Linked DNA regions of Homo sapiens: regions 1, 2, 4 and 5 are each linked to region 3. The links are contacts of gene promoters, found by promoter capture Hi-C in human tissues and cell types (Jung and others, 2019). All regions are on one chromosome and are shown on one strand. The core of a region is centred on a gene start or on the middle of the fragment in contact, and the rest is flanking DNA. Distances in the headings are between cores, read along the strand shown. Region 1 overlaps PRUNE2 (prune homolog 2 with BCH domain). Region 2 overlaps PRUNE2 (prune homolog 2 with BCH domain). Region 3 holds the start of FOXB2 (forkhead box B2). Region 4 overlaps PRUNE2 (prune homolog 2 with BCH domain). Region 5 has its middle 15 kb from the start of VPS13A.

Region 1 (5,328 bases), core at 2,779-5,278, 190 kb after region 3:
CTTAGCTTCCAAGACAGTTACTTGGGTAACTCTGTGATACTTTCACAGATTTTTAAAAACTTGATTTAGCTTTTATCCTTGTTCTTAGTACAAGCAGTCTATCAGAGCGAGAGGCAGATGAAGATCTTTTCTGAAATTCATATTTACCATTGCCTTAATAAAGAGGGGAATTTTTTTTTTTTTTTTTTTTGAGACAGAGTGAGACTCTGTCTCCTAGGCTGGAGTGAAGTGGCGTGATCTTAGCTCACTGCAACCTCCGCCTCCCAGATTCAAGCAATTCTCCCGCCTCAGCCTCCCGAGTAGCTGGGATTACAGGCACCCGCCACCGCTCCTGGCTCATTTTTTGTATTTTTAGTAGAGATGGGGTTTTGTCATGTTGGGCAGGCTGGTCTTAAACTCCTGACCTCAGGTGATCCACCAGCCTTGGCCTCCCAAAGTGCTGGGATTACAGGCATGAGCCGCTGCGCCCGGCTGGAAAAATAATCTTTATAGTATGAGTTTTATGTCAGAGATTGACAGACCACAGGGTATACACAAAATCCAGCTGGCTGCCCTCCACCTTCAAATGACTGTTGAAATGGAATCTGTTTAGTTCTGTGTGCTGACTGTTCTTTCCTTTTTTCTTATCCAAAACAGCCTCCTTACTGATTCTCCCCATATTCCTTATCTAAATTTTTCTCTGCATGATAGCCAGAGTGATTCTTATAAAACATAAATGTGAGCATGTTACTTTCCCTACTTAAAACTCTTGAAAGATTCCTCATCCCTCTTAAAATATAAAAGACAAACTTTAAGGCGGCTTGTAAGGCCCTTCATGGTCCCGCTATCTATCTCTATCTCTCCAACCTAATTTTTCAACATTTCCCTTGCTAAAATCATACCATCTACCTGTAATTAATTGCTTTCTGTTCCTTGAACTGGCCCAATTCCCTCCCACCTCAGTGCCTTTGCACAGGCTCTTTCTGGATCATGACCTCCCTCTTGTCTTTGCCTTAAGTCCCTAGTTATCCTTCAAGCTCAGCTTAGGTTAACTTTCTCTAGGAAGACTCCTCTGAACCCTAGATTTTGGCCTAGATTCAGAGTACTATGTATTTCACCCATAATATTTCTTATTCTCTGCTATTGAAAATGTCTGTGCTTACTTATTTGTAACCTCTAATCTCCCGTGAGCTTCAAGAGGCAAGGTTATCTCTAGCCTAATCTTGAATCGTTAGCATAGAGCCCTGCCTGGCCGATAAAAGGCACTCAGTAATTGTTTGTGAGGGAATGAATGGATGAAATGCTTTAAATATATTTAGCAATATTTACTTTTCTTTATGATGTTTACATTCATTTGATGCTTAGTATAACACTGTGAGCTGGGAAAGCAGTATTATTCCTGTTTTAAAAATGGGAAACTGGAAACGGAGGCCAGACGACTTGCTTGGGACTTTCCAGCATGTTTGATGGTAAATGTAGACCTCATCTCTAGGTTCTGTAGGTCTCAGGCCATGTGTTTGGATTGGGTACCATAGTTTTCCCTCACTGGATGCTTTATTTCCCCTTTTACCTTCTTTCCTCTTTTATTTATTTTCCATTTTCCCTCCCCCATGACTGGCGTTAAGGCTACACTGAAACAGAGACGGTAGTACTTTGATTAGTCAACAGATTTGGGGATTTTTAGAGAGCTTAATCATTTGTCATTAAGCGAAACTTCTCTCTCCCATGGTGACTCTGTGTTAATCTGGGCTTGGAATGCAGGGAAGAGTAAGAGTACGTATGGGGTGCTAACTCCTCCCTTTCAAGATGAGATTATCCACAGAAGTCACAGGAGTTTGTGCAAGGTCCTTCACACTGGAAAATTACTTTGTAATTTAAACCTGTGATTTAGACCCAGCTTGTGAGTCCTTATAATTAGATAATTGTAAATGACTTTAAAACTGTGTATGATGCTTGGGAGATCAGAAATGGACGTCAGGTTAGCCACCTTGTCAGATTCCTCAGCTGTTGACCGTGGGATTATACATTCATTTAGTGTGAAAAGGAAGAAGTTTGTATGTAAAATTAATAATATAATGAGTGGAAACAGTATTCTTTCTGGTCCTTTAAAGGAAATAAGGCTGATTAGACTTTTAAATAGTTTACCACTAACTTCCTTTTTGAAATCATTTAAGACCAATGCATATCTTTTTGTGTGTTTGTGTGGGGTTGGGGGAATATACACATTTTTTTCCTTTATCTGTGAATTCTGTACCATAGAGTATGCTAGGGTCAGTTAAGTTGTAGAGAGCAGTACTTGGAGAATAATGAAGCTGGATGATGGTTCAATTGTTTTCTAAAAATTGGCTCTTGAATGTTACGTGTGGAGGACTCTGGTCCAGGTGAGAGACAGAAATGGAAAGCTTAGATTGAGAGGCCAGGAAACACTGATTTTCTTGGCCCCTGTTCTGGCTTGGCTGGAAAGCTTTAAGAGCATTTTTATTCATACCTTTCAGGTAGCATTCTTTTCAAGTGGATGACCATGGAATCAGAGAAGATCTCAGAGAAGCAGGAGGAAATTCTTTCTATCCTGGAAGAAAAATTTCCTAACTTGCCTCCAAGAGAGGACATCATCAACGTCCTACAGGAGACCCAGTTCAGTGCTCAGGGTGAGTGACTCTGTCCCCAGCTCTCTTGTCCCTCCCGAGTAGGGATGGTTTGTGGCATGGAGCATCATCAGACCTGAGAAGGTATATTTGTTTCTTTGTTTGTTTTTTATACAGAGTCTCACTCTATCCCCCAGGCTGGAGTGCAGTAACATGATCTCAGCTCACTGCAACCTCGACCTCCCGGGTTCAGGTGATTCTCATGCCTGTCTCCCAAGTAGCTGGGATTACAGGCATGCACCATGACAGTCAGCTAATTTTTGGCATTTTTAGTAGAGGCAGGGCTTGACCATGTTGGCCAGGCTGGTCTCGAACTCCTGGCCTCAAGTCATCCACCTGCATCGGCCTCCCAAAGTGCTGGGATTACAGGTGTGAGCCACCATGCCCAGCTGAGAAGGTACATTTGAATGTGTTTCACCTTCTTCCTATTGCTTGTGCTGGTGGAAGGTTTTCAGGCACATAATGTTGACTCCCCTGCAAATAGACAGCTTGTACTGTGGCCTCTCCTCCGAGGCCTTTGTGTCTGGATGTGTGGTTAATTCATGTCTCTAGTGCATATCTCAGGTGCATTATTACATGCAATCCTTATGCTGATAGGATTCTATTTTGAGAAGATGGAAGGAGCAATATCAAGCACAATGGGATTTCATAAATCAGTTAATTTGAGAAGGAAATGAGTGAGAAGATGGCTATGTTGAAGAAACTGTTGTCAGAGTCTAGGCTTTGTCAGGACAGTGAATTTCCTGGATCAACTGTTTTACAATAACAAAAGGCTATAATTCACTGGATACCTACTGTATACAGGTTTTGATGGCATAGCTTGGCAAGGATGTTCTTGCTGAATCCTCCTCATGACAACCCCAAGAGTCAGTGCTTTGACGTCCCAGTCTGCAGGTGAGGGAGGACACTGAAGTGCAGAAAGCCTTCATTGCTTTCCCAACATCAAACACACATAGCAGGCAGGTGGCCAGGCAAGGCCTAAACCCAGCCTATATGTCTTTAAGATGTAAACACTAAATTACATAACTTTCTCTCTTAGTTCAGGAACCCCATCCCCAGGGGCAGGAGGGGGCAGAGCCTGAGGCAAAGTGGTTTATGTGGGAGGTGGTTCCAGTCAACACTGATAGGGGAATGGAATGCTTCAGCAAGCAAGTTGGCTCCATGGGAAACCAGAGCTTAATCCCACCAGAGACCATGAGAAAGAGTGTAAACTCTGTCCCACCTGAGGGATGCAGTGGTGTGCTCATCTCGGCTCCAGGAGCTGATGGTTAAATGTTCAGGAATTTTGTGAGTTGAGTGATGATTGGTAGCTTGAGATCAGCCATGGTAGGAGTATTTAGATCCCTGAAATTGACAAACACTACAAATCAGGATTTGTTACTGGCCGTTAAACATTTACCAGCAGACCACTGGAAGAGTGTGGGCTACTCAGACCCAGGGGGCCTTAATTCTCCAGTGTAGGCTCTGGTGGCCAAGGAAAGCCCTCAGGAAAAGAGAGGCAGGTGCTGGTGGTGGAGCATCATGCTGGGTGCACTGGGATGGGAAAGTTTGAGGAAATGGGGTGGGGCCTTTGCAGCGTCCATTGCACCTTCTGTTACCTATGCATAGATGTGCATGTCCTTGTGTGTATGCTGCACAAGGGAATGTGTTTTGTCATTCATTTTCACAATGACACCAAACTTTTAATGTCACAATGTCTTCAATGAATCATTTTACGCTGCATTGTGAAAGATTGTGGCTTTTCAATTTTTGAGTCAAAGAAAAATATTTAGTGCCTGTCTGTTTCCTCATGTGATTGACAGAGCATTGTAAGTAGGTAGTGCAAGCAGTGGTCTCTGAAGCCTTAACATACGTCTGGGAAGGGTGCAGTGCTTTACCAGGCTTTATTATAGATCTTCCTCCCAAGAGAGTAGGCCTAATCAGACGTAATAATGTAGCGCGAGAATTAAATGTCGAGCCAGATCCTTTGCTGCTTTACTGTGATAGATTTCATTGAGTTCCATTGGTCAACTGACTACAACTATGCAGTTCTGGATAATTTAGCCATTCTGGATTATTACTCCCATTAATTAGGGAATTTAATAACTCTTATTGTCAGAGCCTATTACGAGGGTAAGCAACTTAATTAAGATAGTCTTACGAGTCACATTTGTAAAGTGCATTTTGAATGAAATTATACTAGAAAACATGGGGGCTTACCTAAATGCAGCCTGAAAGCCAGTTTTGGCTTTCTTTGGTGTTACTTAACTAGTTTGCATGGTGATGTTAATTTTTCTTCATTTGTCCACCGCCACCCTTTTATTCCCTGCCTTTGTCTGCTCTGGGGCTCCAGAGGTGGACCCCTAAGTATTTAATCTTATGGGCTCCCACAACACTGGCTTCTGGTTGGGTTTGACCAATAGGAAGAGTTAGGAACAGGTAGGGATGGAGGCGAGGAGAAGAATGAGACTGTAGTGGATCTTCCTTGCCTTCTTCCTGCTTAGGTGGAAGTTTCTGCAGCCAGTCTTCTCAAGTTACAGATCTCTGTTTTCTTTCTGGGTCCCTTTGCTAGTCTCTGGATGCCTCATCATCTTTTATTCACTTTCTCACCCAGCCCACATCTCTGTAAGTGTCCTGCCATTAACACATCTTCTTTTGCAGCAAAAGAGGTGCATTTTTCCTATTGGGATCCTAACTGATGCAGACGTGATGTGATTATTGCCTT
Region 2 (5,116 bases), core at 327-2,826, 140 kb after region 3:
CTCCTAATTTTGTTTGCTGGTAAAACAGTTTGGTGATGGAAAGGACTAGAAGGGAAGTCTTTGTATAATTATGTATTTAATAATATACACTTTAAAATAAGAGTAATTCCTTGTAATTCAGATTGCTTTTGGGTGAGTAGGTGGGGGTTGTCAGGACAAAGTAGTAGGATTTTTTTAAGTTTTAGAAGACAGCTTAAGAAATGCTCTAATCCTAATGGTACCTGCCACAAAACCAATTAACCCAGGAGAATGAATACCTTGTCCTTGCAGATTTTACAGATCATAAAGGAAGAAAATCTCTAAAGACTACGTAATATTCTTACCCCTCCTCAGAAATCTTTACTGAACTCTAAGTTTTCTGAAGTTGGTGATCTAGCCCACATCTCTTAGTGAATAGTCAACAGAGCTTCTCTCTAAGGATTCAAGAGCTCTCTGGACAGTGGGTCTTCTGTGGTCCTCTCTAAGCAACTTTTCATTGCACAGATAGAAGCGACCTGACTCTAGATGAGAAAAATGAAGCCAAGAGGGCAATCGCTTCTTCATAACAGCACTGTGGTTCACCTTCTTGCTCATGACACCCTCCCTGCCTACAAAGAATTCCCACCTTGGAACATGTCCATGAGCTTTAAGAGTGGACTCTTCCACCTGCTCTTCCCTTTTCCTTCTCTTTGGCCATCTTCAAAGAGAATGCTTGGTTCTCTAACTGGCTGTCCTGTCCTTGGGGTCAGCCTGCATTCTTGTGCCCAGAGTCATCAATACCTTGACTCTGCAGTGGCCTCAAGGACTATCTGATTCACCATAGTGCTGACCTGTCTTCTGCAGAACACAATTTCTGAGAAATCAGCAGGACCTGCAGCATCTTGCTGATGCAGCTATTGATTCCTACCTCTGCCTTGCTTGATCAGCTCTGGAATCTATTGATAACACTACCACTGCTAAATCCCCACTTCCTGCTAAGTCCAGATTCCGCATCTCTACCGCTTAGGGTCATGGTGTATCTTACACTATACCTAAGTAGTTTTTATGTTCTGTCTTGAGCAAATCTGTCCACTAAACAGGTATTCTCTCTAAGCCCTAGTGGCTGGAAGTGATATTATAAAAGGTAGCAGTTGCCTGCCCCTGTAAAAACATTTAACTGTGCATTATTTATAACCCAGAGAAAATTTTCCTTCTTCAAATGGCAGATTATTCATTCACCGATGCTTGATTACTGTACTCTAATGTCTCAGTATTTCTTATGTATTAATCAAACAAACCTCAAGAGATATTCAGCAGCTGGGGGGATCACTTTTGGGTAGTCTGATTGGAGGGGTTCCTAGAAGGACACCTCAGAGTCTTGAGTGCAGCAATTCATGAAATTCTACCATTAGAAAGCTGTTCCTTTGTGTGTGTGTGTGTGTGTGTTTTAATTGAGACAGGGTCTCACTCTGTCACCCAGGCTGGAGTCAAGTGGCACAATTTTGGCTCACTGCAACCTCCGCCTCCTGGGTTCAAGCAAGCCTCCCGATTAGCTGGGACTACAGGTGACTGCCACCACACCCGGCTAATTTTTTGTATTTTTAGTAGAGATGGGGTTTCGCCATGTTGCCCAGGCTGGTCTCGAACTCCTGAGCTTAGACAATCTGTCTGTCTTGGCCTACCAAAGTGCTGGGATTACAGGCATGAGGCACCGCGCCAGGTCTGAATTTTTTTTTTTTAATGAAAAATGTATAGGTCCTCTTTTAAAATGCACATCTTCCTGGGATACCTCTTCTATACCCATGTTCTTTTGTAGACTTGTTCTAGAGCATTAAAGCTTGAAGGGAATCTTAATGATCATTTGGTCCAGTCTCATTATTTTAGAGATGAAGATATGAGGCTGAGAAGACACATATATCTAGATCAAAGACTCACTGCTAGTTAGCAGTAGAGTTGGGCTCAGTATCCTATGTCTCCTGCCTCTTTTCCAGAAAGCTTTATGTGTCTTATGGTATCCTGAGGAGACAACTTTCTTTCAGATGTGTCAACCTGTATTATATTCCATGCTTAAAAATATCTCATGTAATGCAGTTTGATTAGCATTTCTCTAGAGTCACTGTAATTCTAGAGATGGCAGGCACTGGGGTAATTATATATAAAATTTCCTCTTGGGTTTAAGTCACTTCCAAGATCCAATGGTTATTTTAAAACTAGTGTGGGAAGTAGCTTATTTGGCTAGCAGCGGTATTAGAAACAGAAGAGTTAGAATGACTGGCAGGTGCTGATGATCTCTTTGTTGATTCCACTAAAAATGGTGGGACAGTGTTGGGCCTCATTCCCACCCAAAAACGCCACCAAGTGTAATAGGTATGTCTAGGTGGGAGGGAGGAGCCCCGAGTAGCACAGAAAGAGGGAATAGGTCAAGGGAAAGAAAGAGAAAATTTTAAATCTATTTGTTTATGTAGGTGCCTCCATGGAATCAATATCACCCATTGCCTGCCTTGGAAAATTTCTGAAAAGTCCAGGGGAATCTGGCCCCCAAAAAGGGTCAGTATTGTGAGCAGGAGGAACCCTCAGTGCCTCTAGCATTGTGGGTCATGGACATGGAATGCTTTTCCTTGCAGAAAAACAGGAAGTGTTCCAAGCAGAACATGCTATTCCTTGCTTCGACAATTCTCTGTAATTCACTTGAGTCAAATCCAGAGAAATTTTGAGTTCTGCTTATTCATTGTGTATTTTTATTTCCATCTATCTACTTAAATGGTTTTCTTCTAAAATCCAAGACGGTTCCTCTGTGTCTAGTTGCTTCATTTTTCTTGAAACAGATTTTGCAAGCAGATTTGTAGAGATGATTTTCTCTACCTCACAGGAAATAGGAATTTCTACTACTAGTATGCCATAGAGCCATGATTCTTAAATGTTTGTGCGTATTGCATTCACCTGGGGAGCTTGTTCAAAACACAGATAACTGGGCCCCACTCCAGATCTACCTGATAAGAACATAGCAGAATGGGACCAGGGCTATGTGTTTTTAACAGTTATTCTTGGTGCCTTCTGCACCCACCCTATGATTTTGATGTTCTCCCAAGTTTGAGATACGTGTCAAAGGGACATAGATAGGAAGAAAGGATGGATAGCAGTGGTATGACTTGGGTGTTGAGAGAACCTCTGTGCCCACATTCCCTATTCATTCTATTATAAACATTTATTGAGTCACTATTTACTATGTGCAGAGAACATCTTGAGACTTTGGACTCACACAGGTGGCTAAAACACAGAGCCGGCTGGGCATGGTGGCTCACAGTTGTAATCCCAGCACTTTGGGAGGCCAAGGCGGGCAGATCACAAGGTCAGGAGTTTGAGACCAGCCTGGCCAATATGGTGAAACCCCGTCTCTACTAAAAATACAAAAATTGGCCGGGCATGGTGGCACGTGTCTGTAGTCCCAGCTACTCGGGAGGCTGAGGCAGGAGAATCACTTGAACCTGGGAGGCGGAGGTTGCAGTGAGCCGAGATCATGCCGCTGCACTCCAGCCTGGGCGACAGAGCAAGATTGTCTCAAAAAACAAACAAACAAACAAACAAAAAACACAGAGCTAGCCCTCAAGTTGCTCACAGTTTGGGACAAATAGATATGATAACATCTATTTACAACCCAGAAATCTCCAGTACTGAAGAGTATTGAAGGTGGTATGGGTGGGGAGGTCAGTGTAGATTTCACAGAAAAAAGTGATATTTGAGCAGAGTTTTGAAAGAAGAGTCACAGTTCTCTGGGCAGACAATGGGGAAGGGACGTCTAGGTAGAGGGAGGTGCTGGTGCAAAGGCTTGGGGGTTGAAAAGTGTGTGAGATTGGGACCTGGAATACAGGTGCTGTCTGTATGGTTGAAACACACTGGGGTGTGTGTAGCGGGAGAAAAGCTTGGAAAAAAAGGCCTCAGAAGTATAGATTTTTGGAGGCAGATTATAGCAGAAAGATCATTGACAAGAAAATAGGTTGTATGCAAGTAAAATTATTGTTTTATAATTTGTTACTGACATTTTATTGTTGACTCATTATTAATTAATGTAGTCCCCTGCACTACAGCACTACCTCAGCCCACTTTTGATCTCATCTCATGATAATTAATATACTTTGTCTGCTGCAAACTCATTCTACCCTTTTAAGAAATTTCTTCCTTTATTTTTCTCTCATGCTCTGGTTCTGAGGCGATGCTTGAGCCTGTATTTCCTAGCATTATTTCTGTTAGGTTTGTGAACCATCTTATTAAAATTTATGTCTGGTTCCTTTAAATGTTAATTCTAAATTAAGCAGCAATACCAAATGAAGCTCGAGCGATGGGATGGAAAATGTCCACTGTCTTTTTCCTATTAGACTGACCTATGAATATATCTCAGATTTTTTTTTAAGTTTTCATTTCTTTTTAATGTCAAGACAACTTAGTAAAGCTCCATCTAGAGTTTTAACTTAATGGCTGTCAGAATCAGCCTTGATAATTGCTTCTTTTGGGTTATCTGCATGTCTTCTTTCCATCGGTAACAAAATCAATACTGACACCAATTCAGAGCATTAGACTCCCCAACATGCTTTCATGTGCACTTTTTAAATGGTTTGACCAGCAACCCTCTGAATTTCACAGGATATCATTATTATTGTTTTCCAGTGTAACAGGTGAGGAAACAGAGACTTAGCCTCATTAAAAATTTGCTGTACTAATGATATTTTTTGAATATTTAATATGGCTGGTATTTTATGTGACTCTTTGGGAGACAGTCAGTTCTCCTTCCTTTTAAAACCCTCAATAATGGAGCCACCAAAGCCAAAGCTTTAAGTGCTGGTGTGGCCTTTTGGTATTCATGATTAAGATCACATTTATTTGTACTAATGATTCAGTATTACATCTCCCGAAGAGATGTACTGAGCAAGCACTGCAGTGACAAGATAAGTTGCCCTGTTTTGTTCCATATGTCTGTGCTCTAAGTATTCCATAGTTTTAATTGGTTCCCTGCAGAATAACATTTATAAGCATATGGTATGGAAAATGCTGACTGCTTTTGTTATCATGTATTTTAGTACTTGCGGTGGCCCCAGTTCACTTAGCCTTTAAATGTGATTATGAGGTTATTTAATGCACTTTATGGAGTACTTTTCCTTAACCT
Region 3 (5,082 bases), core at 1,204-3,703:
TGAAAGACATAAGCGCTCAAACAGCACACGGAATACAAAAACAGCCGCAGCGTGCAAAGGTGACTGGGTGGTCCCCTTGCTTCCGTCCGAGGAGACTGGAAGGGAACAGCCATGGAACGTTTCTGCAAGCGTTAAGAGCAATATTGTCGAGTGATGTGCCGAGTTTTTCCTGCATTCGTAAGTTAGGGAAACAAAATCCCGCTATACAAGTGATTTGTTTCCTTAAAATTCCAAATAGAAAGGATCGTGGGAATTCACATTATTCTTGGGCTCTCATCCGACTGATACCCAAACAAGTTGCAGGTGGAAAGTCGCCTGTATTGTCTCCCTTTGGTTGTGTTTCCCAACTTTTGGAATTTGGGGCTTTACCCTTTAAGCTGCTGCCATTCTCTTTTGTACAAACTAATTGCTCTAGAGGTTCCTCCTATCCTTCTTGACCCCCAGGTCAGAGCCAAGAACCTTAGCTGTTTCCCAAAGATATTTCGTGGGGTTCCCGCTGCCTCCTCTCCTCCCCTTCCCCCTCCAAAGCGACTTTATTCATGACACCGTTTCCTTGCCCATTTAGCTGACTAGGAAAATAACGGTATCAAACGCTTCCTCTTTTCCTTCTTAAATAAAACGAAATTTCCTTAGTGGACGGCAGTTTTGTCTTGAATGTTCACGAGAGGCGACCGCCGAGGATGCGACCAGCAGAGAGAAACGTGGTGGCTGAGATCCGTTTCAGCGTCACTCTCTGTTGGATTCTTCGCGGGAGGTTTAGCTCTGCCAGCTTCTGCTCCCAGGAATAAGGGTCAGAATCGACTTCCAATTTACCAGCGAATGAGGCTTTCCTAACCTCCTTCGTTCCCTCCCCCCATAACTTATGGATTTATATTAATTACAATAGAAACTCTTACCTGAAAATTGGCTTTCATTAATCTGATTGTACAACATAGTATAAACACAGACACCAGGAAGGTTATATTTATTCAGACCACTGGAGAATCCACTTTTCGGGGTTGTTCGTCTATTTAAATACCTTCCGTTCCAGCAAAGGCTGAGACTCGCCAGCTCTGCCCGGCCTGACCAGGGCGCCCTCTCCCCGTCGGGTGGTTTGGGCGGTTCCGGGCCCGGCGTCTCTCACCCCGCTGGTCTCCCCACGCCCGCCGGGTCCCCTAGGAGTGCACTAGCACCGAGTGCAAGGAGCCGCCCTTGCTTTCGGCCGAGGTAGGGGCTGTGGGCTCCAGCAGAGAGGCAACGGGCGAGGCCGCGGCCGCGGAGCACACGGTGGATGGCGCCGGAGGCTGCTGCGAAGCCGCGGGGACAGTGAGCCCCGGCTGCAGCGCGGACACGGGCGGCAGCGCAGGCGTGGGCTTGATGGGCACCGGCATGGCAGGCAGGCTCTGGCTTGCCGAGTGGCACAGGGACTTGACCGGGACCCCGAAGGCCCCATACTCCGGGCCTACAGGGACTCCGGCTGCGGCTGCGGCGGCCGCGGCGGCGGCCACCGAATCCATGACGCCAACGTGCGGCCACACGGAGCTGACGACGTTGCCAAGCTGGCCGGGCACGGGGTAGCCCAGGTGGTGCATGACGGACGCCAAGGGCAGCCCTCCAGCCTGCAGCACGCCCTTGTAGTCCCGGCCAATAATGTTCTCAATGGCAAAGGGGTGCTTGAAGCCTGACGTGGACGCCGCGGCCGCGGCGGCAGCGGCGGCGGCCGAGCCCAGCCCGTAGGGTGGGAACTGAGACAGGCGTCCCACGCTGCCCACCGCGGCTGCCGCGGCCGCCGCCGCCGCCGCCGCCACGGCCGCCGCCTCCTGCATCTTGCCGGGGTGAGACGGCTGCTGAGGCTGCGACTGCTGGGGCGGTTGCTGCGGGGGCTGTGACGGGAGGTGCGGAGGCGGCTGCGGAGCAGTAGGCGGTTGCTGATGGAAATAGTGTACCATGTGCGGCGGCGGCGGGGGCGGCGGCGGCGGCGGCTGGGGTGGGTGGTGGTGATGGTGGTGGTGTGCGGCAGCGTGGTGATGATGGTGGTGGTGGGGGTGGTGGTGGTGATGGGGGTGAAGGTGCCCTCCCGGACCGGCGCCCGGCGCGCTCTTGGTGCTTCCCGCGTGCAAGTGAGTATGGTCGGCGCGCAGCACCTTGAAGCGCTTGCGACGCCGCAGGAAGCTGCCGTTCTCGAACATGTCCCCGCAGTCGGGGTGCAGCGCCCAGAAGCTACCCTTGCCAGGCTGGTCGGGCCTCCGCGGAATCTTGATGAAGCAGTCGTTGAAGGAGAGGTTGTGGCGCAGGCTGTTCTGCCAGCGCTGTGTGTGCTCGCGGTAGTAGGGGAAGCGCTCCATGATGAACTTGTAGATGTCGCTCAGCGGCAGCATCTTCTCGGCCGAGTGCTGGATTGCCATGGCGGTCAGCGAGATGTAAGAGTAGGGCGGTTTTTGGTCGCTGTACGAGCTCTTCCCCGGCCGCGGCATCGCCCCCGGCTCCTCCACCGCCCTCCGGCCCGCACTGGACCACAGAATCTCTCCGCACTCCGTTCCTGGGGCCTGGCTGCCCCCACTAATTCCCACTCGGCCCCTCCAGTCCCGCCACTTTGCCCTCTCGCCCTCCAGGCCCTCTCTGCTTCTCTCTCCTGCCTTCTCCGAATTGCCTGGTGTCTCCGACCTTGGCCTTTCGGGCCTACTCAGCTCTCGGAAGCTGGCAACTTCTGGCCCCGACGGTTGCCGACTGGCGCGCACAGTCGCGGGCGGAGTGCACCAGGTTTACCGCCGCCTTCTCTGCGTCTTCCCCCGGGTGGCCAAAGACTGAGTGCTGGAGCTGGCTGCAGAGGAGAGTGGCAAGGGGCCGTGTTTCCTCCCGGCCTCTTTGCTTTTTCTAGGTCCGAGGGAAACCCAGACCAAGATGGCTGGGAGGAAGGTCTGGGCAGTAGAGACTCTGGCCCTTTAAATCTGAGTTTGCGCCTGCTGTCCTGGAGGCCAGTGACAGCAGGACTTCCAGTGCCCTGGACGCAGGCCCCTGGCCAGGCACTTAGCCAGACCGCGCTGGAGTTCTCCTTTTCCTGGAGTGAAAAATCAGGGTAAGGAGAGAGAAGATTGGCTTCTAGGGCGCCTCTCTTTTCTCCGAGGCTCGCAGCGTCGCCGGGGTTAGAAGAGACGCGCAGCCCTAGGCTGTCGCTGAGGAGAAAAAACTTTGGTGGTTTCTGAAGCGGCAGCGCCCGCAGGTTCTGCTGAGGAGTGTGGGGCGCAGGACTCTGGGAGCGAGCGGCGGGCTGGAGAGGGCGTCTGCGAATGCTGGGTGAGTGCTGGCCGGGGAGGCTCAGCCGTCCGCGCCGCAGCTGCCGCCTTTCTCCCGGGCTTGTCTTGAGGAGGAGAGGCGACGGCAGTGGCAGCGACGCGCTCTCCTGGCTGCGTTTTGTAATGGTCCCCGAGACGCCGAGACCCCCGCAGCTAGCGCTTCGAGACTATCACATGACCGAGGCTGAGGGACTCAGCCGCCGCCGCCGCGTCTGTAGCTGAAGAAGGGGCAAGAAGGCGCCGTGCCTCGCCCCCGCCCCCTTTTCCACCTCGTTTCGGGCGCTCTCCACCCATCGCGTTCACCACTCGCTCGGCAGCCCCCAGCCACCTCCCGGTGCGGCGGGTGGCGCAGGCTGTTCGCCGGGAGGGGGCACAGCTCCGGGTGCATTTCCCGCAGCTGCGCCCCACCCGGGCCACCAAGCACGGTGGAGGGGGAACAGGACACTGCCTTCTTGCTTCTCTTCTCTCTGGCATCTCCCTCTTCCGCCCCCTTCCTTTTACCCTTCCCTGTTTTCATCTACTCGCTGTGAGCTTCTCTCTCCTTACAAACCCTTTTTCCTGGGCTAGACACTCTGGGTCAAGTTCAGAGTATCGTGTCCTCAAGGCCTCTTCTCTGCAAGAAACCCCGATGATTAGAGGGCTGGAGGGAAAAACTCATGGGGAAGAAAGCATGGGGTGTTTTCACCAAATGCCAAATTCATCTCAGTTTTATTGCGCGCCAACTGCATGTGAGGCACCAGGTGCAGGGAGACAGGAGACAGTATCCGAGCTCCACCATCGCGGTATAGAGGGTGAGACGAACAGTAACCAAGAAATTAATAGAATAGGCACTAAAGGGCTTGGCGAATGGAGGCTCCACCACACTTTCCTGGAGCGAGTGAGTTGGACAAGATGAGGTTTCTCTGGGATGGCGATGTCTGAGCTGGGGCCAGAAGTAAGAGTTGGGGATTCAGGGGTCCCATCACCTGTGTGTGCTGGAAGGAAATCTTTGCTATTCTTAGCACGGTGGTGTGGGGCCAGGGCGAGGCAGGAGGTGGAATGGAAATAATTAAATAGGAAGCAAAAATTATCAGTCCACAGGATCCTGGTGTGATCTGCGAGGGAGAGGTGGATGAACCCAGGAGTGAGGTCCTTCTGCTTGGAGGTTCCTGCTCTGCACTCATCCAAACACCCAGCAGGAAACCCCAGTTTACTGCAGGGAGAACCTGAAGTTGTATACTCGTTTTGGCTACCTTTGCCCTTCAGCTGGGAGGAAAAGCAGAGTTTAGAAACAAGTATACTCTCCGTCTCTGGGACTGTTTCATTATTTGTAAAATAGGGTGGCTGAAGTTGGAAATTCACGGGTCCTTTCCCGTTAGGCGATTTGAGGAGAAAGGAGCATTTGGACACTATGGCTCCCTCGGTTTTCCCACGCCTAACCTGGAAGAAAGCCATCGGCCCAGCTGCTTGGGGGGCTGCCCCCTAACTAGCAACCTTGGTGACACCAGATCGGGTGTTTTCAGCTTCTGGCTTTTGGTGAGCTGGACGGTGGGAGCACGTCTGTCCGTGGGGTGGCTTAGCCAGGTCGCAGGAGTGCCGTGAGCGGGTCAGGCCCGTAATTTCCATCTTTAGTCAGGAGCTAGATTTCTGGCTAGCTCTATGTGGCCAGTTTGTCCTAGGCCAGAAGACGTCTGAGAATAGATGTTACGACTGAAGCTTGCAAGAAGGCCCGGGGAAAAGAGCAGCTTCTTGGTCCTAAGCCCTTTTCAAAGTAAGATGTTTTCTCTTTCACTGTATGTCGGAAGCTTTCCTCCTGCCATAGGAGTTTCTG
Region 4 (4,858 bases), core at 1,732-4,231, 240 kb after region 3:
AAGCATACGGGTTAAAGGTTGCAGGAACCATGGCTTGGCAATTAGCGATGTAAATGAAACATTCATTATCCATCATGCTGAGAAGTTGATGAACTGTACAGTAAATCTGAGCCCACAGTCAGGACTGAGATAAGTCATTTCAGACAATACAGTGGAGAATTTATGAGCACCAGGGACAATGTTTCAGATTCCTGTCATGGAGGTTTCTTTACCTATTTAGTTGAATAAAGACCTTATAAAGTCCAAGCCACAATGCTGTCCTTCCACAGGAATAAATATGAGATTCTAAAACTTTCTCTTAAAATGAACCATTTTGAGAGCTAAAGTGACTAGATGTTGACAGCCACCATTTTTCATAAGTGCATCCCATAAGAAAGATGTACTATAGATTATTTGTCTTGAAGAAGAGCTTTGATATGTTTCAAAATTCGACGTTGGCTTTGGAAGGAAACTGTAAATTTACAGATCTTTGTCCTTCCCCACAAAGAGCCTTAATCTCACAGGTTGGATTATGTGGAACTCACTGCTATTTTTCAGTTCTCCTTTAAGTGACTAAGGAACATCCAGATACTTCCAAAAAAAAAAAAAAGTCTAAGTTTTTCACTTTGTCCATTGCCATTTAATTATCTTCTGCATATTTTAAAGCATTTCCTGTGAACATAAGTATTGCCCATCCAGAAAATTTGCGTCTACATTGATTTTATGTTTAATGAAACCTGTTCTTCTCAAGTTCTTTATTTAATCACATAACATAGTATCTTCAAAGGTGAGATAAAAAAATCACTGGAGAAATGTTAAAACTTCATTTATTTAAGATGACTAGTGATGCAGCTAGCAAACCCAAGAAGCCAACTGGAATGGAAATGCTCAGTGGTGCTCAGCCATTACCCAGGACCAGAGATTCCTTTGTTAACAGTTCAATTTGTTGAGGCACAAGTGAGGATAAATTGGGCCATGACAAAACTATGAGATTGAATGATAATCATAGTAACATCTGACATATATTAAATTTGGTGTTATGCCATTTCTCAGTTCCACCAAATGTACTAATCTGGGCATTGTTCTAGGCACCTGAAATAAATTATCTCAATTCATCCTTCAAATAACCCAGTGAAGTAGATCATACTATATCCCACTTTATAGATCATACTGTGTATCCCATTTTATGGATGGGGAACCTGAGGCTCAGAGATGAGAAATGATCATCCAATCATCCACATTCACTCAACTAGTAAACAATTGGGCTAAACTTCAGCTCCAGCTCCATGCAATTCCAAGTCCTCGTTGAACCACTTTGTTATTGAGCTTGCTCCAACTGATCTCCTGTGTCTCTGGCCATCCCATCGTTTCAGTAGTGCCCCAGTTTGAAAGTCCACTTCATCATCAGGCATCCAGTGCCTTCCAGCCTTTAATTGTCTCCTATCAAACTGGAAACAATTAGTCTGAGAAAATCATCCATGCCAGTGAATTAATTTATTGAATTTGTTGTCCTGTGTCTTTCTGTGAGGGTGAAAGGCTGTATTTGTGCCATAAGAGAATGCTGGCTGTCTCTAGAAGAGCTGAGGGAAAGGTTGAATGAGATCAACGCCTGGCTCTTACAATGGCCTGCAGCAGTCTTCCTCAGCCTTGACTTGCCTAGGAAACTTGCAAACATCAGATTCTCAAGTCTACCTCCAGAGATTCTGATTTAATCACTCTAGGCTGGGACCCAGTCATTGGTATTTTTTAAAAGCTCCTTAGAATAAATCTAATGTGCAGCCAAGGTTGGGAACCTCTGGATGGAAAATACATGATTTGGTCCCCTCTAACCTCACCTACTGTTTATTATCCTTCCACCTCCCACTGCTATAGACATGCTGTCTTCCTTGCTTTTCCTAGAACACAGCAAGCATGCTTTTGCCTCAGGGACTTTGTACCTGCTGTCCCCTCTCTGACTAGAAAACAGTTTCCCTAGATACCTGCATAGTTAGCCCCCTGAACTTATTTCAATTCTCTGCTCAAATGTCATGTAAATGGTGACATCTTCCCTGACCATCTTATATAAAATAATACTTCCCTTTCCCCTGATATTCTCTATCCACCTTATCCTGTTTGATTTTTCTGCACTGCCCCATCAACCATTGACATATAACATGTCTACTTGTTTATATATGTATTGTGTTTCACCAGCATTGAAATGTGACTTTCACGAGGGTAGGGATTTTTGTCTGTTTTATTTAATACTGTATCCCCAAGAATGCCTTGCATAAATTGGGACTAACAAATATTTATTGAATTGAATAAATGAATACATTTGGGAAGGCGCAAAGGAGTCCTTGCCCCTGAAATTCATTTCTTCAGTCAGCCAGCAAACTGTATGGAGTGACATCTGTGTGCTGAGCTCAGAGCTCTGTGCCTGGGATAGCATTTTACAGAGCATGGTGGGCATGGCTGGCCAGTGCTCCTGCTTACTTCGATTTTCTGCCTTCCCACCATTCCTGTGCTTATTATATTCTTTCTCAGAAGACTTTTTCCCCACTGTTGAGAACAGGGCAGTCTGAGAAGCCTCCCTACTAAAACTGAGGTTGGCACCCCTCTCCTACTTCATTGTGGAATCCTGGAATGGTCTTTCTTACCCTTTGTCCCTAGCAGTTTCACATGCTTTGGGTCATTGCATTTCTTCCCTTCTCTGCCCTCCCCCACTTCTCTCCTTCAAACAACATCATCTCTCAGCAATATACAACCTCAAGGGCTATGGGGCAGGGGAGAAAGAAGGGCCCAAGAGGAAGCTACCCTGATGGCATTGGTGCAGTGGCAGATGTGGGAACCCAACCCAAGAGGAACAGTTTAGGAGTGCCGAGAATCTCCGCTGAGTGGAAGAAAGGTCCAGGCCCTTTGTGTGTGTGTGTGTGTGTGTGTGTGTGTGTGTGTGTGTGTGTGTGTGTGTGTATGTGTTTTGGTAATGAGAAAGAAACTCAAGAGAAAGCTTCATGTATCTTCAAACATACAAAAAAAAAAAAAACTGCTGGCTGGACACAGTGGCTCATAACTTTTAATCCCAGCACTTTGGGAGGCTGAGGTGGGTGGATCATTTGAGGTTAGGAGTTCGAGATCAGCCTGGCCAACATGGTGAAACCCCATCTCTACTAAAACTAGAAATACTAGCTAGGCATAGTGGCGGGCACCTGTAATCCTAGCTACTTAGGAGGCTGAGGCAGGAGAATTGCTTGAACTCGGGAGGCGGATGTTGCAGTGAGCCGAGATTGTGCACTGCACTCCAATTTGGGCAACAGAGCGAGACTCATCTCAAAAAAAAAAAAAAAAGAAAAAAGAAAAAAAAAAAGAAAATGTGGTGTAAATGTATACCGTGATATACTACTCAGCTTTTGCAGCAATATGGATGGAACTGGAGATCATTATCCTATGTGAAATAATTCAAAAATGGAAAATCAGATACCACATGGTCTCACTTGTAAGTGGGGGCTAAACAGTGTGTACACATGGACACAGAGAGTGAAATAATAACATCGGAGAGTCCAAAAGGTGGGAAGGCGGGAGGGTGGTAAGGAATGAAAAATTACCCATTGGGTACAATGTCTGCTATTCAGGTGATGGCTACACTAAAAGCTCAGACTTCACCACTACTCAATATCCATGTAACAAAACTGCACTTGTACCCCCTAAAATTTACAAAAATTTAAAAAATTTCATTTGTGCTTACTGTCTTTACTGAAATGTTAAATATTTACTCATGAGTTGATTACTCTGTGCACGTGAGATTGTCTTTTGTAGTTATAAAGAAGGGATGCTTAGAAGTAGTATCAGTGTTCTTTCTTATTCCTATCCCTCCCAAATCTCACACCAGAAAATGCTGGAATTTTTTGGAAGGAAATAGAGAAGAGTGGAATTAGGTTTAGGGATGTGTAGTCATAGGAGGAGGGGAGTAATGGAAGTTATAGAAATGGTGGTACTTGGTGTTGGTCCGAGCTAAAGGCTAGAGAAGGATGTGTTAGAAATGGGCCTGCATAGCCGGCATGAAGGCCGGGTGAGCAATCCTTGTGCTTTTTCTGGGAGAGGTAAGGCCCAAGAGAATTTGCCTGAAATGGGATGATGTACAACTATTTTCACATCCAAGAAAATTTGAGGAGTTCTAGGGCAAATGTAAAGAGATAACATTCCTTGCATACCTGAAGAGAAGAAATATGGACAGACTGAGAAAATGATTTTTAAAATGACAAAATAGGCTGGGCAGAGTAGCTCACACCTGTAATCCCAACACTTTGGGAGGCTGAGGCAGGCAGATTGCTTAAGCTGAGAAGTTTGTGACTAGCCTGGGCAGCATAGCGAGATCCCATCTCTACAAAAAAAAACCACAAAAATTAGCTGGGCATGGTAGTGCATGCCTGTAGTCCCAGCTACTCTGGAGGCTAAGGTGAGAGGATCGCTTGAGCCTGGAAGGTCAAGGCTGCAGTGAACTGTGATCGTGCAACTGCACTCCAGGCTGGGAGACAGAGTGAGACCTTGTCTCAAAAAAAAAAGACAAAGTACAAAATGGTCCTCTGAGAATATTGTTCCTCTTTGTCATTGCAAAGAGATGCATTCTAGCTGGATGTTTTCATTTATACTCCCAAATTCTAAGACTCTTGTTTCTCCTCCAGTGTTTCACACAGATGGTTAGTGAAAAAGTCCTTTCTTTCCCCCCGACCAAATAAACTTGATTTTCTGTCTGGTCCTATTCGGTTCAGCTTAGCAAGTAACAGGGCAAATTTTTTTTCTTCTTTGGGACTTGAAGTATGGTGTTTTATAATTCACTGAGTGATTACAGAGTGCCCAGAACTTTATGTAAATTATTTTTGTTTCTCATAACTCATCTGTGTAG
Region 5 (5,010 bases), core at 2,194-4,693, 140 kb before region 3:
TGTAATCCCAGCACTTTAGGAGGCCAAGGCAGATGGATGGCTTGAGGCCAGGAGTTCGAGGACAGCCTGGCCAACCTGGCAAGACCCTGTCTTTACTACTAAAAATACAAAAATTAGCCAGGTGTGGTGGCACATACCTGTAATCCCAGATACTTGGGAGGATGAGGCACAAGAATCACTTGAGTCTGGGAGGTGAAGGTTGCAGTGAGCCGAGGTCACGCCACTGCACTCCATCCTGGGCGATTGACTGAGACTCTGTCTCAAAAAAAAAAAAAAAAAAAAAGAAAAGAAAAGAAAAGAAATTTAATTGTCATTGTAACAGCGTTAGGAGGTGGGGCTGCCTTTAAGAGGTTATTAGGCCATGAAGGCTCCACCTTCATGAGTAGGTTTAATGCTTTAATAAAAAGTCTTTCAGTTGGGCTCTCTCTCTCTCATATGCCCTCTCACCTTCCACCATAAGTTGACACAAGAAGCAGACCCTCACCAGATGCTAGTACCTTGATATTGGACTTTCCAGCCTTCAAAACTGTGAGCCAATAAATTTGTGTTCATTATAAATTACCCAGTCTGTGGTATTCTGTTATTGCAGCATGAAATGAACTAAGGCACCACCCAACGATGATTAGCTTAGAGAAGTGTTGCTCAACTAGGAGTGATTTTGCTCCTCATGGGACATTTGCCAATGTCTTCAGACATTCGACGGAGGCCAGACATGCTGTTAAACATTCCACAATGCACAGGAAATCCTCCTACAACAAATAATTAACCAGCTCCAAATGTTAATAGATTGAGGTCGAGAAGCCCTGGCTTAAAATCTAATAATTATGTAAAACAAGGGAATACATTTTACTTAACTTGAATTAGGGGACAACAATTCTTAAAATTGGATATTTAGTCTCTCTCAGTAGCTGGGATTACAGGCCCATGCCACCATGCCTGGCTAATTTTTGTATTTTTAGTAGAGACGGCGTTTCGCCATGTTGGCCAGGCTGGTCTCAAACTCCTGGCCTCAAATGATCTGCCTACCTCAGCTTCCCAAAGTGCTGGGATTACAGGCATGAGCCACAGCTCCGGGCCTGAAAACAAGATTTCAAAGTTGTGATGTTATTAAAATACAGGATACCCTTAAAGTTTACTCTTTCAAATTTTTAAAAGAACTCAGCAGAAAGATGTGCAATTGATTTGAATAGACAATTCGTGAGAGAAATAAATACCTAATAAATGTATAAGAATATGTCGTTTCCAGCTAATAAAATATATCCAAATAAAAAACAAGAAAGTGCTTCTCACCTATAAAATTGACAAAGATTTAAAAAATTGGTAGCACCCAGAGTTCTGAAGGAAATGGTAAATGGGAAACTTCCAACCCTACTGATAGCAGAAGAAATTGGTATAATTTTTCTGGATGTCCATTCGACAGTATTTGTAAATAGCTTTTGGATTGTGCTTAACCTTGAGCCAAGTAGTCTATTTTTAGTAAATTATTTTAAAGAAAAATAATCATTTATTGAATTCTACTTCTGAGCCAGGCTCTGTAGTGCCACTTTATAGACATAAGTATTTAATCCTTACAACAACTTTGCAAGCAGATATTATTACCAACTGTTACAATTGAGGAAACTAATGCACAGAAAGTTTTAGCAATAAGCCAGAGATCAAACTACTGGAATAGTTTATACACAAGTCTGCCTTATTTTTAGGAAAAATGGACATATGTGCAAATCTGTAGGAATGAGGATGTTTACTGCATAGTGTATAATAAAGAAAAGTAGAAAATAAAGCTCATTATCCATTAATAGAGGAATTATTATGCAAATTGCATTCATTCAAATGATCATATACATTTTGAAAGAAAATGTATTTAGAATATCTTAAGTTCAAAAGGTTGGTTAAAAATAAAAGAGTGTTAACAGCCAATTTTTTTTTTTTTTTTCGAGACGGAATTTAGCTCTGTTCCCCAGGCTGGAGTGCAATGGTGTGATCTCGGCTCACTGCAACCTCTGCCTCCTGGGTTCAAGTGATTCTCGTTCCTCAGCCTCCTAAGTAGCTGGGCTACAGGCATGTGCCACCATGCACAACTATCTTTTGTATTTTTAGTAGAGACAGGGTTTCACCATGTCGGCCAGGCTGATCTCAAACTCCTGACCTCAAGTGATCTGTCTCCCTTGGCCTCCCGAAGTGCTGGGATTACAGGAGTAAGCCAATACATCCAGCCAACAGCCAACTTTTTTTGAGTCCTTGCTATGTGCTGAGAGTTCCAGATATTTGTTCAACTTGGTGGGCATTTGCATAGAAAATAGTCTGGAAGAACTTACACTAGGATGTAATAGTATTGTCTTCAGGTGGTGAAATCAGGGATAAGTTCTGAGTTTCTTTTATGTTTTGATGATCACTGAATTTATTTCACTGGGTATGTATTCCTTTTGTATTCAGAAAAAAACACCCTTTAAAACTAAGAGGGAGGGAGAGAGGGAGATGGGAGGAGACAGAAAAAAGTGGAGAAATCTTGCAAGTTGTACATGAAGAAACAAGTGAGTGGAGCTTATTCATATTGTTTTGATACACACATGAGCCAGGAGAGTGTGCTATGCTTCCATCTTTCTAAATCTTCTCCTTTTAAAGTAGTTTACTACAATTTCAAACCTGATAATCATATCTTTATTGTAGATTATTTGTACATAAAATAAAATATTTATGGTCAAGATTTAGTTTTCAAAATGTTAAAAATATTTCAGAAAACCACGAAATGAAATAAAAGCAGTCAGACAGGAGGTTTCTGGTTTTCCTAGTAGATTTCCACATTTAATCCATGAATCTTCATTTTTCTCCTTCCTGGAGTATGAATATAACTCAAAGTATAATGACAATGACAGTAGTCTTTCTCTCTCTCTTTTTTTTTTTTTTTTTTTTTTTTTTTTGAGACAGAGTCTCTCTCTGTTGCCCAGGCTAGAGTGCAGTGGCATGATCTCGGCTCACTGCAACCTCTGCCTCCCCGGCTCAAGCAATACTCCTGCTGCAGTCTCCCAAGTAGCTGGAATTACAGGCATGCGCCACCACATCCAGCCAATTTTTGTATTTTTAGTAGAGATGGGGTTTCATGATGTTGGCCAGGCTGGTCTCAAACTCCTGGCCTCAAGTGATCTGCCTGCCTCGGCCTCCCAAAGTGCTGGAATTACAGGTGTGAACCACCATGCCTGGCTGACAGTCGTCTCTTTTGAACCCACTCTTGTTAAATCTCTATATCCCAACACTTCTGTACCTCTGTAACCCAACATGATCCTGGATGGTCAAGCTTGCTCCTCAACAATGCTGACGTCTCTGGCACTGAGCCTATCTCCTGCCCCTTGTTTGCCTGCCACTGTCTGCAGGGTGTAGACTCTGGTGACAGAAATGTCTGAGATTCATGAGTGAGCCATGCTTGACTTTGCCACCATGACTTGGTCACTTCAAGGAGATCAGTGGAATTGTTGACAGTTTTCTTTCAAGGTGTCATAGCAGCTGCTTTGCTCCATTAAACACAAGTAGAGGATTAATTCTTTTTAAATAAGGAGATCTTGTTTCTTTTTCTTCTTTTTCTCCTTGTCATCGCCCCCCTTTTTCTTCCTCTTCCTAGTTTTCTTCCTTTTTCCTTCCTTCCTTTTCTTTGCTAGTAAAGTTTGTTGTAAACCAAATTATAATTGCCACAACTAATAAAATAGAAAATTGAAATATATATACACACCTACATATGCAGACATGTTTTGCATTTTTTTTACAATGTCCTTAATGTCACAACATTAATTCTTATTTTTTCTCACCTTTGTTCTTTAGAATAGAAACAGAAGGCAGCCCTCTGACATCACCTATTTCCCTAGCAAAACACGTCCACCAAATGATAATCTGCATTTCTCTTTGTTTCAGGATATTTTACCTTTACCTTTGTAATCATGGTAATTTACTGCTATTTTGCATGTAGGAGGAAACCCTAGGGATATTTTTGTTGCAAAGATGCCAAGGAAAACTGAGTTATGTGGCAATTTTATAGTTCTAAGGAGAAGGTGTCAAAAGCTTACAAGAAAATTAGATGATACCCCTGGAGGTGTTAGATGCATTGACAAGTTCACATCTCCCATCTTCCTTGACATTTTTAGGTTAAGCCATATGATATTGCTGAGTGTCCTAGTCTAAAATAGTTGATTATCATCAGTTTCACATGGGTCAACCTAAAGTAATGAACTGTGGATTGTTATGGCAAAATGAGGAAAGATGACTTGGAACAGAATAGCTGAAGTGTTGCAATTAAGAAAAAAAGTTTTATTGACTTCTTTTAGTCTTGGTTAACATATATCCCCTTAACCCATTTCCCATTTGCCCTGAGAATACTGCACTGGCAGTGAGCTGCACATTTGTTTTCTAAACGGGGAATGGGTTAAGGATGGGTTGGACATATCCAGACTTCTCTCAAAATACTGACAGGCATATTAAGGTTCATAAATCCTCCTTGTAGCTAGTAAGTCAGACCAATCTCTACCTTAATGAATATTTACTAAGCACCAGTTGTGTCAGGTTATAATAGATATGGAGACACAGTCTTTCTTCAAGGAACATTGCATCTATGGGAAGGAAAGCACATGACCAATTGTGATGGTTAATATTCAGTGTGGACTTGATTGGATTGAAGGATGCAAAGTATTGTTGCTGGGTGTATCTGGGTGTTGCCAGAATAGATTAACATTTGAGTCAGTGGACTGGGAGAGGAAGACCCACCCTCAGAAAGACCCACCCACAATGTGGGTGGGCATCATCCAATCAGATGCCAGCACAGCTAGAAAAATCAGGTAGAAGCTGGAGGGTGCTGACTTGCTGTGTCTTCCAGCCTCCATCTTTCTCCTGTGCTGATGCTTCCTGTCCTTGAACATCAGACTCCAGGTTCTTCAATTTTTTAACTCTTGGACTTACCAGTGGGTTTGCCAAGGGCTTTCAGGACTTTGGCCACAAACTGAAGACTGCACTTTCAGCCTCCCTACTTTT

The links. The method cuts DNA at HindIII sites, captures the fragments that hold promoters and counts their contacts. A contact is called where the count stands out against the background at its distance.
Region 1: a contact is called between a fragment that was not itself captured here and the fragment with the promoter of FOXB2 in region 3, in 1 of the 25 tissues and cell types used here (liver).
Region 2: a contact is called between a fragment that was not itself captured here and the fragment with the promoter of FOXB2 in region 3, in 5 of the 25 tissues and cell types used here (dorsolateral prefrontal cortex, heart right ventricle, liver and 2 more).
Region 4: a contact is called between a fragment that was not itself captured here and the fragment with the promoter of FOXB2 in region 3, in 4 of the 25 tissues and cell types used here (IMR-90 fibroblasts, mesendoderm cells, ovary and 1 more).
Region 5: a contact is called between a fragment that was not itself captured here and the fragment with the promoter of FOXB2 in region 3, in 7 of the 25 tissues and cell types used here (H1 embryonic stem cells, bladder, dorsolateral prefrontal cortex and 4 more).

What each region holds. Positions count from the first base shown.
Region 1 is chr9:76,823,879-76,829,206 of GRCh38, reverse strand. PRUNE2 (prune homolog 2 with BCH domain) reads left to right here. Exons shown (of 19, transcript NM_015225.3): 5 at 2,475-2,627. Among named protein-coding and RNA genes, the nearest start is that of PCA3, 62 kb to the right of the region's middle. The HindIII fragment of the contact is 3,231 bases long and covers 2,413-5,328 here.
Region 2 is chr9:76,873,788-76,878,903 of GRCh38, reverse strand. The region is part of intron 1 of PRUNE2 (prune homolog 2 with BCH domain); the gene reads left to right. Among named protein-coding and RNA genes, the nearest start is that of PRUNE2, 30 kb to the left of the region's middle. The HindIII fragment of the contact is 5,508 bases long and covers 1-4,330 here.
Region 3 is chr9:77,017,026-77,022,107 of GRCh38, reverse strand. It overlaps FOXB2 (forkhead box B2), which reads right to left and starts at 2,453. Exons shown (of 1, transcript NM_001013735.1): 1 at 1,155-2,453. The coding sequence starts at 2,453. The coding sequence ends at 1,155. The HindIII fragment of the contact is 6,747 bases long and covers 1-5,082 here.
Region 4 is chr9:76,774,964-76,779,821 of GRCh38, reverse strand. All of the region lies in intron 6 of PRUNE2 (prune homolog 2 with BCH domain), which reads left to right. All of the region lies in intron 1 of PCA3 (prostate cancer associated 3), which reads right to left. Among named protein-coding and RNA genes, the nearest start is that of PCA3, 13 kb to the right of the region's middle. The HindIII fragment of the contact is 8,675 bases long and covers 1-4,858 here.
Region 5 is chr9:77,159,726-77,164,735 of GRCh38, reverse strand. No RefSeq gene overlaps it. Among named protein-coding and RNA genes, the nearest start is that of VPS13A, 15 kb to the left of the region's middle. The HindIII fragment of the contact is 4,434 bases long and covers 1,227-5,010 here.